Regions from separate parts of the Homo sapiens genome. Here all the other regions are linked to region 1. The links are contacts of gene promoters, found by promoter capture Hi-C in human tissues and cell types (Jung and others, 2019). All regions are on one chromosome and are shown on one strand. The core of a region is centred on a gene start or on the middle of the fragment in contact, and the rest is flanking DNA. Distances in the headings are between cores, read along the strand shown. Region 1 holds the start of PPFIBP1 (PPFIB scaffold protein 1). Region 2 has its middle 8.0 kb from the start of C12orf71. Region 3 overlaps STK38L (serine/threonine kinase 38 like).

Region 1 (4,844 bases), core at 1,524-4,023:
TGAACTTGTTCCCAAAAAAATGTCAGTGATGCCCTTGAAATTAGGCACTATTGATCTGGAACTTCAGTGTGTCCTGGATTTCAAATCAACATTTATCCATTAAGGCCAGATGACCTTAATTTTTATTTTATTTATTTATTTTTGAGATGGAGTTTTGCTCTAGTCGCCCAGGCTGGAGTGCAATAACGAGATCTCAGCTCACTGCAACCTCCGCCTCCTGGGTTCAAGCGATTCTCCTGCCTCAGCCTCCCAAGTAGCTGAGATTACAGGTGCCCACCACCACACCCGGCAATTTTTTTGTATTTTTAGTAGAAATGGGGTTTCACCATGTTAGCCAGGCTGGTCTCCAACTCCTGACCTCAGGTGATCTGCGTGCCTCAGCCTCCTAAAGTGCTTGGATTACAGGTGTGAGCCACCAAGCCTGGCCGACCTTAATTTTTAAAGTTGCTCTTGGAAATATGACAGTTGTTGGTCACAGGAATTTAACCAAAAACTGATCCTACCTTTCTCAATAACTCAAACATCTTTTAAGTATTCCGTGTTTTCCTACACCATATCTGCCTCATAAACATGGACTGAGAAAGAGAAATATTGGTTTAAATTAAGTATGTAAAATTACTGCTATTATTCAAACTGTGAATCAAATTTAGAGTTTTGGTATATTCAAGTCCCTAAACTAGGACTAGTTTCTTGGAAAGAAAGTGTAAATCTGAATTTGGCACATAAGGATAACATCCTAAAGATACTCTTCTTTACTGAACCGTCTGGCTTTTGCAGCCCCATCTTTTGGTATTACAAATGCAGTTGGAACACTATCAGCCAAGGAACACTACCGTGAGTTCACATTAGCCCACAGGAACTCCACTCCACAGCTCTATCCTACTGAAAAAGTACACTGGAAAATACAGTATGTTTTATGTACTCCCCATAGAACATAAATAGAAAAGACTTGTTCACCATTATTGCAGAGCCATTTGCAATTTCTGTGTCTTAAGCCAAAATACAAACCAAAATTAAAATGTTGTCTTTCCAATAAAGCGAATTTTCCTTTCTCAAAAAGCCTGCTATTTTATCCACTCTATTTAATTTTTTCAGGAACTAACAACAATACAGACCCAGGTATGTCATAAACAACAGCACAACCAAACACTTCTTTCTAGTTCTGAAACCTAATGATCATTTGGCTAGAAAGATAGAGAACCCCATCTATAGTCCTCTATCCCTTTTCCTGACTTGGGTTTACTAGACCTACTGTTGTGGCTTCTTTCTTTCTCCATCTCCTGGAAATGCCTTTTCCCTTCAGGGGCCTGGGATACGGATTTTGACTCACAATGAAGTCCACTCCCATTTCCTCCAGACCTGGCAACAGTAGGATCCTCACTGCTGAGGAGGAACTTCGGTGAAGGAAAGGGGAAACTTGACTCAGGAGTCTCAGCGCTTACTTTTTTTTTTTTTTTTTTTTTTTCCTTCCTGCTCCAAAAGAGAGCCTTAAAGCACTGATGAGAGGGTCCTGAATCGGTGTATGGAGTCAATTTCCCCGCCCCCTCGAGAAAGTCAATCACACCCAGTTAGTGACCTGGGCACACAAAATCTCCACATAGGAAAAAGACAGGGTTTGAAATAGGAAATAAACAAAAATCAGAATTCTATTCTTTCACTTCTTAAAAGTATCTTTTTCCTCCCGCAATTGCTTTCTCAAAATACCAAACTTGGACTTTGAAATCAAGTTCTTTTTCTATTGCTCTCCGCAGTTCTTACTGAAAGCAAGGATTTGTTTTGGTCCCACATGTTGAAAACTTCACGTCCCTATAATTAAGAGTTTATATGCCACGCCTTCCACCGCGTTTCCCTGTTAAAACTCCCTTCTCTAAAAAAGATCCCTGAAAACACAACTACCAGCTCGCCCCTCAAGCAGCCACAGGAAACAGATCTGAAGATTCTCAGCAGCCATCCTAACCTCTCCAGATATAAAGCTGGCAGCTGAAGGGATTTCTCGGTTAAAATGAGTGAATACTAGTTGCAGTTTTAGAAGTGTGCCCCCAAGAGACGAGTTTTCCCGCAAGCTCATAATTAATAAACACCCCAAGTGAATTTCTCACATCCTGACTGGATTACACAAAAGGATATTTTACATTGATATATAAGACTAACATTGATATTCTTTTAATATATAATAGGCCACAAGGAGACAAAAAAATACAAAACTTTTTTTTTCTTTTCAACGAGCATAATTTTTGAGTCGATGATCCATAATTTTTTGTGGCATTTTTAAATGCCTCAATACACACAGACAGAGAGACACACACGCCCCTCTGGTTGGGGTTCTCAGGTATTACCGGGAGCCTAGGGTGTGGGGGTCTAAGGATACAGACAAGACCTAAACGTCCAATCCTGGAGTATTCTTCACGTACAAGCTCGGTCCAAGCCCCAGGAGTTAAGCCCTACCCCTCCACCCCCACCACCCCCAAAAAGTGCCCGTTCCCATTGGGAAACAGGAGTGAGTTGCACAAGGAAATCGACCCGGGGAAGAGGAGGAGCAGCTGCAACAGCCAGCTGCAGCCACACAACGGTGCCACTTCCCTCCCGTCTGGGAGTGGAGCAAAACGCCCTTACCTGGGGGGTGGAGAGCCGCCGGCACTAGTTCCAAAAGTTCTGGTCCACCTCCTCTCGGAGTTCAAAGCCCCAGCACTCCGGCCCGGCCGCCAGCTCGCAGCACACGAGTCCTTCCCCGTCCTTTCCCCACCCTGCCTGCACTACACCATGTCAGGAATCCGGGCAGGCACCGAGCTGGGAGCTGACATCACTCCCAGTTCCAGGTACCTCCCCCTCCCACTGCCGCCCTTCTCTCCTCCCTCCCTGCAGGAATCAGCCAAAGAGAGTCAGCAGTGGGGCGGGGCCGGGGGCGCCTGCGCGCCCGCTGATTGGAGCCGGGGAACGTCACTCAGAGGAGTCCACTAATTTTATGCATTCCTCGCTGAGCCAGACTAGGGCTGGAAGTGGGTGGATGGAAGAAAATGCTGCCCTTCCTGCTATCTCTAAGGAACGGAGATAATCCGATGGGGAAGAACCTGGCGGGTCGAGTTTTAAACTTTTCTTGTTGTAGTTACTGAGATTCCAGATCAGAAACGAAACTAACCCACGCGAACCCCCTTTTTAAGGAGAAACAATTGCCTCGGTGTCACAGGCACACGGGCATGTACAAGCCCGGCGGCGCGTGGTGTAGAAAATGGCTAGCTTTAAGCCATGCAAATAAAGGAAAACGTCAGCTCACCCTTCTGCCCTTTTATCCTGGGACTGCTGGGTGTTCCCTTAGACGGGGAATGTAGAACTTCAAAAGCACTTCAGAAAGATTTGGAAGAGACTCCTGAAAACGGTGACCGAGCTTTGAATTGTTAAGTGGTGGTGTTGTCAGCCATGTGGCTGCTGTTGCTTTTAGCGATGAAAATCACACCACACAAGCTTCTCGGGCAAGTAAAATTGAATCTCTGAAGCAAGAAAAATGTATTTCCCCGTTTAAAGACCTTAAGGCTGCTGTTTCAATGCACACACTGAAAAGGGTGGAGGAAGGAGGGACCTCACAATTGAGTTCCACAAACCACATGAGAATAATTACTGTAGAATGGAACCAATTGTAGTGGCTGAGCTCTCAATTAAGAATTAACTAACGTTTATCCTTGACAGATATCATGCGGTATAATCCCCTTGGCTGACAGAAGAAAAAGATTCTCAGAAAATGGTTCTTTCAAGGCAGATGCTGCTTACAGGCAGACCTGAATGGTGAAAAGCAGCTTTATTTGTATGAGATATAGGTAGCATATAACCCACCATCTTCTAAAAATATAGTGAATTAATAACTTTCTCTTTTTTTTCTTCTTTTTTTAAACAGGTCACTCTGCCACCCAGGCTGGAGTGCAGTGGCATGATCTGGCTCACTGCAACCTCCTTCTCCTGGGTTCAAGTGATTCTACTGCCTCAGCCTCCGAGTAGCTGAGACTACAGGCGCCCACCACCACACCCGGCTGATTTTTGTATTTTCAGTAGAGACGGGGTTTCCGCCATATTGGCCAGACTGGTCTCGAAATCCTGACCTCAGGTGATCCACCCTCTTCGGCCTCCCAAACTGCTGGGATTACAGGCGTGAGCCACCACACCAGGCCTCATTGTTTTTTGATTGATGACATGCCATACATTTACCGATCTGCCAAAAATTGTAGAGGGATGCACAGAATCCAGCATTGTGTCTTGTTTAATCTTCTCAATCATCCTGTAAATTGAGTGTTACTAGCCCTATTTTAACGTAAGGAATCAAAGGCTCAGCAAAGTTATGTAAGTAAATTTCTCCAAATCAGCTAGAACTTGGATTGAAACCGAGGTCTATTTGACTCCAAAGCCATTGATTTTCTTTCTATATCTCAAGTATTGAGTGTCCATAATTTATACTTTTTCAAACAATAGAATGCTACAAGAAATCCACAGGCTTGGGCCACTGCTCTCACAGACCTACTTTATATAATTACCATCTTGTTGCTTGTCAGACCTGCAGTATTCCAAACTCCTGACTTGAATTTCTGACTCCAGTTTCCCCCAGTTCTAATTATTTCTCTGTACCACTCACTACCGATGAGTTTTCTAAAATGTTTGGTTTTGTCATCAACATCTTCCCCTCTAAATCAGGTCCCCCTTTCCCTGCAATTCTTATCTAGCCATTTAAAACTCTCTCTTATCCTGCTTCTTACCTTTCCCAGCTTATCTCCCACTTCGCTCCCAGGAAACCCTCTCTGTAGTCAAACAGGTCTACTCACAGATCCCTGCTTCGTTCTCACCTTTCAGCCTAACCGAAATCC
Region 2 (4,844 bases), core at 926-3,425, 450 kb after region 1:
CTGCTTTATCCCACCTTTCAAAGGAATTCCATGGTTTTAATGCCCATTTGATTTCAATATAATATGCTTTATAAGGAACTACTTCTAAGACATTTTCAAATGGTATGGTATACATCATAGCTTTTCAGATTGTGGCACTGAAAGAAAATTCATCTCATTAGTACTGAATTCTCTCAGTCCAAAAGAAAATCAGAATGGCAATTTATTTAGTTTTCCCTCATCTGCATCAATAAAGATAATTTTAAGTACAAATCTCTAAAATAAAGGGCTCTCATTCTAAGATACAGGTTTCCTGCATACCTACTTAGAAAGGAAAAGAAAACCCTTCAAACATCTTCATAGTTAATGTGTGTTTGGATAGTTGTTTTTAAGTTTCACTTTCATCAGTCCTTCTGTCATCCATCTTTGGGGCCAAGATTTTCCCCAAGCAGAACATGGGGATGGAAAGGAGAATTTTTCTTCAGTAAAATGACTTTAGAAATCAAGTTAGTACCATATTGCAACCAGCAACTTAATAATTGATTCATATAAGGATCAAAAATAGATGCTAAAACCATTGGGTGAATCACTGTCAGGGAAAAAAACATGCACATGCTCTCTAAGATTACCCCACAGGTGCCTTCTTAGTTATCAAGAGGATTAGGCACCTTTACAATGGAAAGGTCTGGTCAACACCAACTTAGCCAAGTGATTAAACTTAGCCTAGCTAATATCATGCACCTTCTGAAAAGAAGCAATGTATACTTGCTAGCAATGTTTAATTTGAATCTAATTATGAGGACACCAACAGTTAGATGAATCTAGACAACAGGACATTTTACCAGACAACTGTCTTTGTCTTTTAAAACATGTTAACATCATAAAACTCAAAATAAAACACAAAAAAGACAGGGAGACAAAAGAGTTCATAAAAGAGATGAAAGAAACATGACAACCAATTGCTCTTTGTAATTTTTTTTTTTTTTTTTTGAGATAGAGTCTTGCTCTGTTGCCCAGGCTGGAGTGCAGCGGCACAATCTCGGCTCACTGCAAGCTCCGCCTCCCAGGTTCACGCCATTCTCCTGCCTCAGCCTCCCGAGTAGCTGGGACTACAGGCACCCGCCACAACACCCCGCTATTTTTTTGTATTTTCAGTAGAGACGGGGTTTCACCTTGTTAGCCAGGATGGTCTCGATCTCCTGACCTTGTGATCCACCCGCCTCGGCCTCCCAAAGTGCTGGGATTACAGGCATGTGCCATCACACCCGGCTAATTTTGTATTTTTAGTAGAGATGGGGTTTCTCCATGTTGGTCAGGCTGGTCTCGAACTCCTGACCTCAGGTGATCCGCCCACCTTGGCCTCCTAAAGTGCTGGGATTACAGGCGTGAGCCATTTTTGATGGAATCTTTGATCAAAACCAAAAGCAAAACAAAAACTATGGTAAAGGGCATTTTTTTTTCTGAATGTGGAGTGTACCTTAGATAATATGATTGAATATTTGCTGGGTATAATGAGAATATACGGCTATGTAGGAGAATGTCCTGGGTTCTTAGGAAATTTAGGCTGAAATATTTAAGGATAGAAGTGTCATGATATCTGCAACTTACTTTCAATTAGTCCAGGAAAAAAGAGAGAAAGAGAAAATGAGAAAGCAAAGATGGGGAAAATATAAAAAAAAGTTCTAGTAAGTAGGTAGTATAGATCTCTATTAAAGTATTATATCTGCTATATTTGTATGACAGTAATAGCTTATGAGGTATATATATATATATTTAAAACATCAAACATTTACTCTAAACAAAACTTAGATAATAATTTGATTTCTCAAGCAATATAAACTGGGCAATTCTTTAATCTAGATTCATTCATTCATCCTGGCACCTGCCTTTGGGTTCACAGCTGGCTGCAAAGAATTTTCAGTCTCACAGATTGGTAACTATTCATCCTTCAAGTCCTAACTATAAAAAGCCAAATTGGTTCAGTTGAAAGCAGACTAGCATCGAGGTATTTTTCCAGAACATGTAAGATTTCAGGAGTTTATCTAGCTTTTGCTGAGATTAAAAAGAATAATTTTTGCCAAATGGGGAGGTAGGTCCTCTGTCCTTTGAAATTTTTGCAAGTTTCAAAGCCTGAATATCTCATGTCTACCTTCAAAACACAGTAAATTTCTGTTTCTCACAAATCAAGAACAGCCTGACACTTACAATGCTAATAATTTCTTCAAATTGTTTTGACGTTTTCTTTTATTTTGAGCAGTGACAGATTGTTCTGCTTCTTCCAAACTAACAAGAACAGGCATAGTCCACTATATGCAGTATTGTGCATTCTAGGGGACTTCTGAGAGTGAGAGTGTGCTCTATATAGTCTTTTGTTGTTGCTGAGACAGAGTCTCACTCTGTAGCCTAGGCTGGGGTGCAGTGGCATGATCTCTGCTCACTGCAACCTCCACCTCCTGGGTTCAAGCGATTCTCATGCCTCAGTGTCCCAAATAGCTGGGACTACAGGCATGCGCAACCACACAGGCTAATTTTTACATTTTTAGTAGAGACAGGGTTTCACCATGTTGGCCAGGCTGGTCTCAAAATCGTAGCCTCAAGGAGTTGGTTTTTTGAAAAGATTAACAAAATAGATAGACCGTTAGCCAGACTAATAATGAAGAAAAGAGAGAACAATCAAATAGATATAACAAAAAATGATAAAGGGTATATCGCCACTGATCCCACAAAAATACAAACTACCATCAGAGAATACCATAAACACCTCTACACAAATAAACTAGAAGATCTAGAAGAAATGGATAAATTCCTGGACACTTACACCCTCCCAAGACTAAACCAGGAAAAAGTCGATCCCTGAATAGACCAATAACAAGTTCTGAAATTGAGGCAGTAATTAATAGCCTACCAACCAAAAAAGCCCAGGACCAGATGGATTCACAGCCAAATTCTACCAGAGGTACAAAGAGGAGGTGGTACCATTCCTTCTGAAACTATTCCAAACAGCAGAAAATTAGGGACTCCTCCCTAACTCATTTTATGAGGCCAGCATCATCCTGATACCAAAACCTGGCAGACACACACACACACACACACACACACACACACACACACCAATTCAGGCCAATATCCCTGATGAACATCAATGCAAAAATCCTAATAAAATACTGGCAAACCAAATCCAACAGCAAATCAAAAGCTTATCCATGATGAAGTCGGCTTCATCCCTGGGATGCAAGGCTCATTCAACACATGCAAATCAATAAACATAATCCATCACTTAAACAGAACCAACGACAAAAGCCACATGATTATCTCAATAGTTGCAGAAAAGGCCTTCGATAAAATTCAACATCCCTTCATGCTAAAAACTCTCAACGAAGTAGGTATTATTGGAACATATCTCAAAATAATAGGAGCTATTTATGACAAACCCATAGCCAGTATCATACTGAATGGGCAAAAGCTGGAAGTATTCCCTTTGAAAACTGGCACAAGACAAGGATGCCCTCTCTCACCACTCCTATTCAACATAGTACTGGAAGTTCTGGCCAGAGCAATCAGGCAAGAGAAAGAAATAAAGGGTATTCAAACAGGAAAAGAGGAAGTCAAAATGTCTGTTTGCAGACGACGTGACTGCATATTTAGAAAACCCCATTGTCTCAGCCCAAAAACTCCTTAAGCTGATAAACAATTTCAGCAAAGTCTCAGGATACAAAATCAATGTACAAAAACCACAAGCATTCCTATACAACAAAAAATAGACAAGCAGAGAACCAAATCATGAGTGAACTCTCTCTCATTCACAATTGCTACAAAGAAAACAAAATACCTAGGAATACAACTTACAAGGGACATGAAGGACCTCTTCAAGGAGAATTACAAACCACTGATCAAGGAAATAAGAGAGGACATAAACAAATGGAAAAAAAATCCATGCTCATGGATAGGAAGAATCAATATCATGAAAATGGCCATATTGCCCAAAGTAATTTATAGATTCAATGCTATCCCCATCAAGCTACCATTGACTTTCTTCACAGAACTAGATTAAAAAAAAACTACTTTAAATTTCATATGGAACCAAAATAGAGTCTGTATAGCCAAGACAATTCTAAGCAAAAAGAACAAAGCTGGAGGCATCACACTACCTGACTTCAAACTATACTACAAGGTTACAGTAACCAAAACAGCATGGTACTGGTACCAAAACAGATACACAGACCAACGGAACAGAACAGAGGCCTCAGAAATAACACCACACATCTACAATCACCTGATCTTTGACAAATCTGACAAAAACAAGCAATGGGGAAAGGATTCCCTATTTAATACATAGTGCTGGGAAAACTGGCTACCCATATGCAGAAAACAGAAACTGGACCCCTTCCTTACACCTTATACAAAAATTAACTCAAGATGGATTAAAGACTTAAACGTAAGACCTAAAAATATAAAAACCCTAGAAGAAAACCTAGGCAGTACCATTCAGGACATAGGCATGGGCAAAGACTTAATGAATAAAACACCAAAAGCAATTACAACAAAAGCCAAAATTGACAAATGGGATCTAATTAAACTAAAGAGCTTCTGCTCAGCAAAAGAAACTATCATCAGAGTGTACAGGCAACCTACAGAATGGGAGAAAATTTTTGCAATCTATCCATCTGACAAAGGGCTAATATCCACATTCTACAAGAAACTTAAACAAATTTACAAGAAAAAAACAAACAACCCCATCAAAAAGTGGACGAAGGATATGAACAGACACTTCTCAAAAGAAGACATTTATGTGGCCAACAAATATATGAAAAAAAGCTCATCATCACTGGTCATTAGAGAAATGCAAATCAAAACCACAATAAGAT
Region 3 (4,844 bases), core at 1,270-3,769, 270 kb after region 1:
AAGAAAGCTAGTGGTTCAGTGTGGTTGGAGAGGTGAGTAGGGGAGTGATGGAAGACAAGGCTGGAAAACTAAAAAGGAACTCATGTGTCACACTAAGGAGCCTGGAAGAGGCCATGGGGAGTCACTAGAAATTTTAAGGATGAAAGTTACATAATGAGATTCAAGTTTAGGACAGTCATTGTGGCAGCCACATGGAAGACAGACTGAAAGAAGGCAAGACTGGTAGCAGGGAAAGATGGCTAGTTCAATCACTGGGCACCTGAATGAATATTCTGGCACTGGAGGAAGAGCAAAGGCAGAGTTCAAGACATAGTTAAGGAAGACCTAAAAAATGACTAGATGTCAGTCATAAACAAGGAGGACGAGTCAAGGGTGATTTCCAGGTTTACAGCTTAAGAACCAAATAGAGAACAACGCCATGCACTGGGAAAGCTAAGGAGCACAAGAATGGCTCTGTGAAGGGAGAAGATAAAGTCAGCTCTGGGTGAGCAGAATCCAAGTTATCCATGGAACACACCAAAGGTGGTGATATCTAGAAGACAGATGGACAATGGGGTCTTAAGATCAGGACGGGGACCTGAGCAAGATATACCGGTTTGGAAGTCATCATTGCAGAGAAGTTATTGAAGATATCACAGCATATGAGATCACCCACACTCACAGTGCAGGGAGTGAGAAGAGGATTGGGGACAAAAGAGCACATTAACCATTTAAGGGAATGAAAGTTAGCTATCTTATGATCTGTTAAGTTCCTTGTCTTTAGGCAAGGAACTTAAATATTTAGGCAAAGACTAAACATCCACTTGTTGGAGATGATGTACAGGGAATTCACAACAGAGTTGGACTAGATGACCTCTAAAGCATCTTTCAACTCTGAAAATCAATCAAAAACTTCAAGACAGTATTTCTTACAATCTGAGAAATAACTTTTCACCACTATTACAGAAAAGCTAAAATCTTAAGTATTTTTGTTTTTGGCTTTGTCAGTCCAATATCTTGTGTAAGTTCTAAAAAATAAATTTTTTGTTGTTTGATAATGTTTTCTGAAAGGGAGAGAGTACTTGGTTTACTTGTACAGAAAAGCACAGGCTCTAATTTCTTAGCCCTATTTTTCCTTCTGTGGGTCCAGTTACACTCTTGGTTAGTATGAAAATGCAGTTTTACTACGGTAAAAATTCAAACACATGTTCCCAGCTATTCATCCCTTTACTTTCTGCCACCTTGTGCCTGAATTGGGCTATACAATGGGGCTAATCTATGGATTTAGATCTTAAAGCTTTAACTACATTTCAGAAATGTGCTTATAATTTTCATTGATATTTAAAGTATGTTGATTTCTGTCTCCTTTTCTGCTCAATTCTAAAAATAAAGAGACACTGGTCCATATACAATTTTAAAAATTAAATCCAGAAATGTTTGATTAAAAGAAACTGCCATTTTTGGCATAAAAATACAACCAGAGTATTTTCAGACAGGACTGCTGGGAGTTCAACTTAATCCTTAAATATGGCACTGGTCCTACCAAGTGGTACCTGGAAGAGGTGTGGAGGTACTTGATCTCTTTTAACCATATGTACTTTTTCTCCCGCCCCCTCTCTGTGCCTCCCCTACCACCCCACAAGCCCGCTTTTCCTCCTTCTGTTCCTTTCACTTTCCTCCTGAGAGTGCCCATGATCTTTTAGTATTACCAGTAATGGCACTAAAGCCAAAACAGCTGCCAACCGCTGGCCTAGAAATACAATGGATATAATTTGAATTAGAGACTACCATTAACTTTTTGGTTGTCCTTAGAAAACAACTTTATATTCTGTTTCAGTGGTCCAATCCAAAGGACAGAAAAAAAAATAACCACTGTAGAAAGTAAATCTATGTAAAAAAGAAATCTGTAGTGCTTTTTATCTCTAGCAATCTAACGTAGATTATACATACAAAGTTTATAATAACGATTTGCACATACAGGTCTCTGAATGACCAAACAAGGATAGAGGAGGACCAGAGATGATGTTTGACACCATCTGAAGTTTAGGGTCATGTTAGTTATTAAACTGTGTTATTTTTAAAAAATAATAAGGCTTAGAGTAGAGAGGAGAAAAGAATCAAGGCTAGAACTAGAATAAAAGGACTTCATTATTAGGTATTACAGTCTTGGGAAATGTTTAAGAGTTCCATAAAACCCTATGGGAAAGGTAAATAATCATGTTCCTACCACAATCCCCTCCCTCAAGTCAGGTGCTCTTGAAGCTGTGCTTTGATGCAGCATTCTCTTTATACAACAACCTCGGTGGTTCTAGGCTTCATCAAAGAAAAGGATTTTAGTGGATTTACTTTTCTCTTTATCTCTCTGGCTGATGGTATCTTTACTTTTTCTGTTTAATTTCACAAAATGGAAGCAAGAGACAATTTATCACCAGCACTGCACTCCAGGTTGGGAGTGAGAAGCACAGAAGAGGTGCTTCCAAGAGGCTACTAGAGGCAACAGAAACACTTTCTTACAAAAGCTCAGAGTGCTAAAGCTGGATAAACATAAATAGACAGCAAATAAAAGTTCATTGCTCCTGTCCAGCATCACGGCAACAATTCCGGTTCCTGTGGCCCCCTAATATGCTTCGTGTCTTACATCACTATGTGATAATACCCGCCTGAGGCTTCTCGGCCTGAAACACTCCTCCTCACCCTTCAAGTCTAAGCTCAAACACTCACACATCCTTGGAAAGCTTCTCTCACTATCCCAAGTAGGTGCCCCTCTCCCTTAGGTGTGCCTCTCACTGCTCTTTCATGACAGCTGCTATGCCTGATTGCAGCTATTTCTACCCCTGTGAATGTAGCTCTCCAGTCACCTGCCCAGCTTCTGAGGGAGCACCATGTCTTTCCCTTTCCATATCTCCTGGCACACGGTATGTACTTTATGTACAATTCACAGTGAAAGAACTGCCTAGGTTCTTTCACTAGAGAGACCCATCCATGCAAGTCTCTCCTTCCCAATCTCACCTAGTTTAGAACTTCATTATTATCACCTAGATTATTTGTCTCTTCACTGGTCTTCCCATTTCTGGACTCTCTTTCCTTGAATTCACTCCATATACACTACTGCCACTTACAACTCTAAGTAATTAATGTACCAAGTTGAACAGGTGGTGAAGTAGAGAATGAAAAGCTGGAAAACATCAATTCTCTAAGTTCAAAGGGTTCAAATCCAACAGAGCAGAAAGAGAAGTAGATAATTAACAGAACTTACCAGGTGCTGTACAGATACACCCAATTTATGCTAATCCCTCTGCGTGGCATGTCCTTCACTCTGAAATGCTCAATTCATATTTCACTTCATATAGGAAGCTTTCCTAATCTCTACAGCCAGAAGCAATCTCTCTTTCCTCTGCTCCCACAGTACCCTGTTACTCCGTTGTCACTTTCTGTTTGAATTACAGTCATTTGTACCCATACATTATACCTCTTACTGGACTGAACTTTTCTAAATGGAGGGCCAAACATCTATTTGTCTCTATTTTGCCATGGTACCTAACACAGTGCCCTGCAAATAGCTGATAAATAATGAATTATGATGATTAACCTCACTAAAATATTATGAGTCTGTGATTCCTTTAGGATTTGCCAGTATCAAGAATATCAATGGGTCATATACATGCAATTCAGTACTAAAATTTTCCACTCTAGCCACAAAAATAGAAAAAGTCTATTCTGTTTGTCTAGATAAGAGTCGACATATGGAGAACATCCTCAACCAGATCTGAAAATGTTCAAATGAAATGGATCGCTGTTGTGAAAAACACAACAAAGGGCAACTCCCTAGTACTACAATAAACTGAGCAACCAGCCTCTGCTGCCAAATACAGAAAAGTCGTAAGGGGCAAACACGGTGTGGTATTTCCACAATGGGAGCAGGTCAGTGGGTAGACACTTAACTAAGTAAAAATGAACACTGCTAGTAAAAATTAATTTAATAAAACAGACACTAGTACAAGATAGTATGTCAAAAATGGATCATTGAATAAGCTGTCTGAGCTCTCAAACATTATCACTTTCCAGAAGTGAATACTACTTGCAGCTTATCCATTCTTTTAAGGATCATATTCAATTTTCTACAAAAGTGCTTTTGTAGGCCGGGCATGGTGGCTCATGCCTGTAATCCCAGCACTTTGGGAGGCCGAGGCAGGCGGATCACGAGGTCAGGAGATTGAGACCATCCTGGCTAACACGGTGAAACCCCATCTCTACTAAAAATACAAAAAATTAGCCAGGTGTGGTGGCAGGCACCTGTAGTCCCAGCTACTCGGGAGGCTGAGGCAGGAGAATGGCGTGAACCCGGGAGGCAGAGCTTGCAGTGAGCTGAGATCGCGCCACTGCACTCCAGCCTGGGTGACACAGCGAGACTCCGTCTCAAAAAAAAAAGTGCTACTGTAAGATACCTCAGCAAGCCCTTGTTAGGATTCCCAATTCCTTAATTTCACTGTTTATGTCTGTCCTCCCTTCACCCTATTCCTTTATCATAATTGTTTTAGTTAGAATGTAAGCAATTGAGTGCACAATGAGATAGACAATAACTTAAGAATTAAGGACTTTAACATTTCATGATTTAAAATGCAGAACTAAAATTCCAGGTTCTCAATTCTCACAAAACAAAACAAAGCTCAAGGCTTAAAACTTTAGAAAATGCCATGCTATAATGATATTTACCCACTCCTAATTGGCTTAAATGAAGTCAGAACATTTGATTATATCATTTATTTCAGCACTGTAATTGCTAAGGGCAAAAACCTTGTCTCATCAACTAATTTTGTAGAGGCCTTAGTGAACGATTTGCTTGTAGCAGCTTTTACTCTACAAGG

What was found. The method cuts DNA at HindIII sites, captures the fragments that hold promoters and counts their contacts. A contact is called where the count stands out against the background at its distance.
Region 2: a fragment that was not itself captured here is called in contact with the fragment with the promoter of PPFIBP1 in region 1 in 1 of the 25 tissues and cell types used here (hippocampus).
Region 3: a contact is called between a fragment that was not itself captured here and the fragment with the promoter of PPFIBP1 in region 1, in 1 of the 25 tissues and cell types used here (liver).

The regions. Positions count from the first base shown.
Region 1 is chr12:27,522,135-27,526,978 of GRCh38, reverse strand. PPFIBP1 (PPFIB scaffold protein 1) reads right to left here and starts at 2,773. Exons shown (of 30, transcript NM_003622.4): 1 at 2,614-2,773. RefSeq lists enhancers at 2,151-2,751, 2,998-3,457, 3,355-3,956. The HindIII fragment of the contact is 12,160 bases long and covers 1-4,844 here.
Region 2 is chr12:27,072,184-27,077,027 of GRCh38, reverse strand. No RefSeq gene overlaps it. Among named protein-coding and RNA genes, the nearest start is that of C12orf71, 8.0 kb to the left of the region's middle. The HindIII fragment of the contact is 7,623 bases long and covers 1-4,844 here.
Region 3 is chr12:27,251,551-27,256,394 of GRCh38, reverse strand. The region is part of intron 1 of STK38L (serine/threonine kinase 38 like); the gene reads right to left. Among named protein-coding and RNA genes, the nearest start is that of STK38L, 9.7 kb to the right of the region's middle. The HindIII fragment of the contact is 4,536 bases long and covers 252-4,787 here.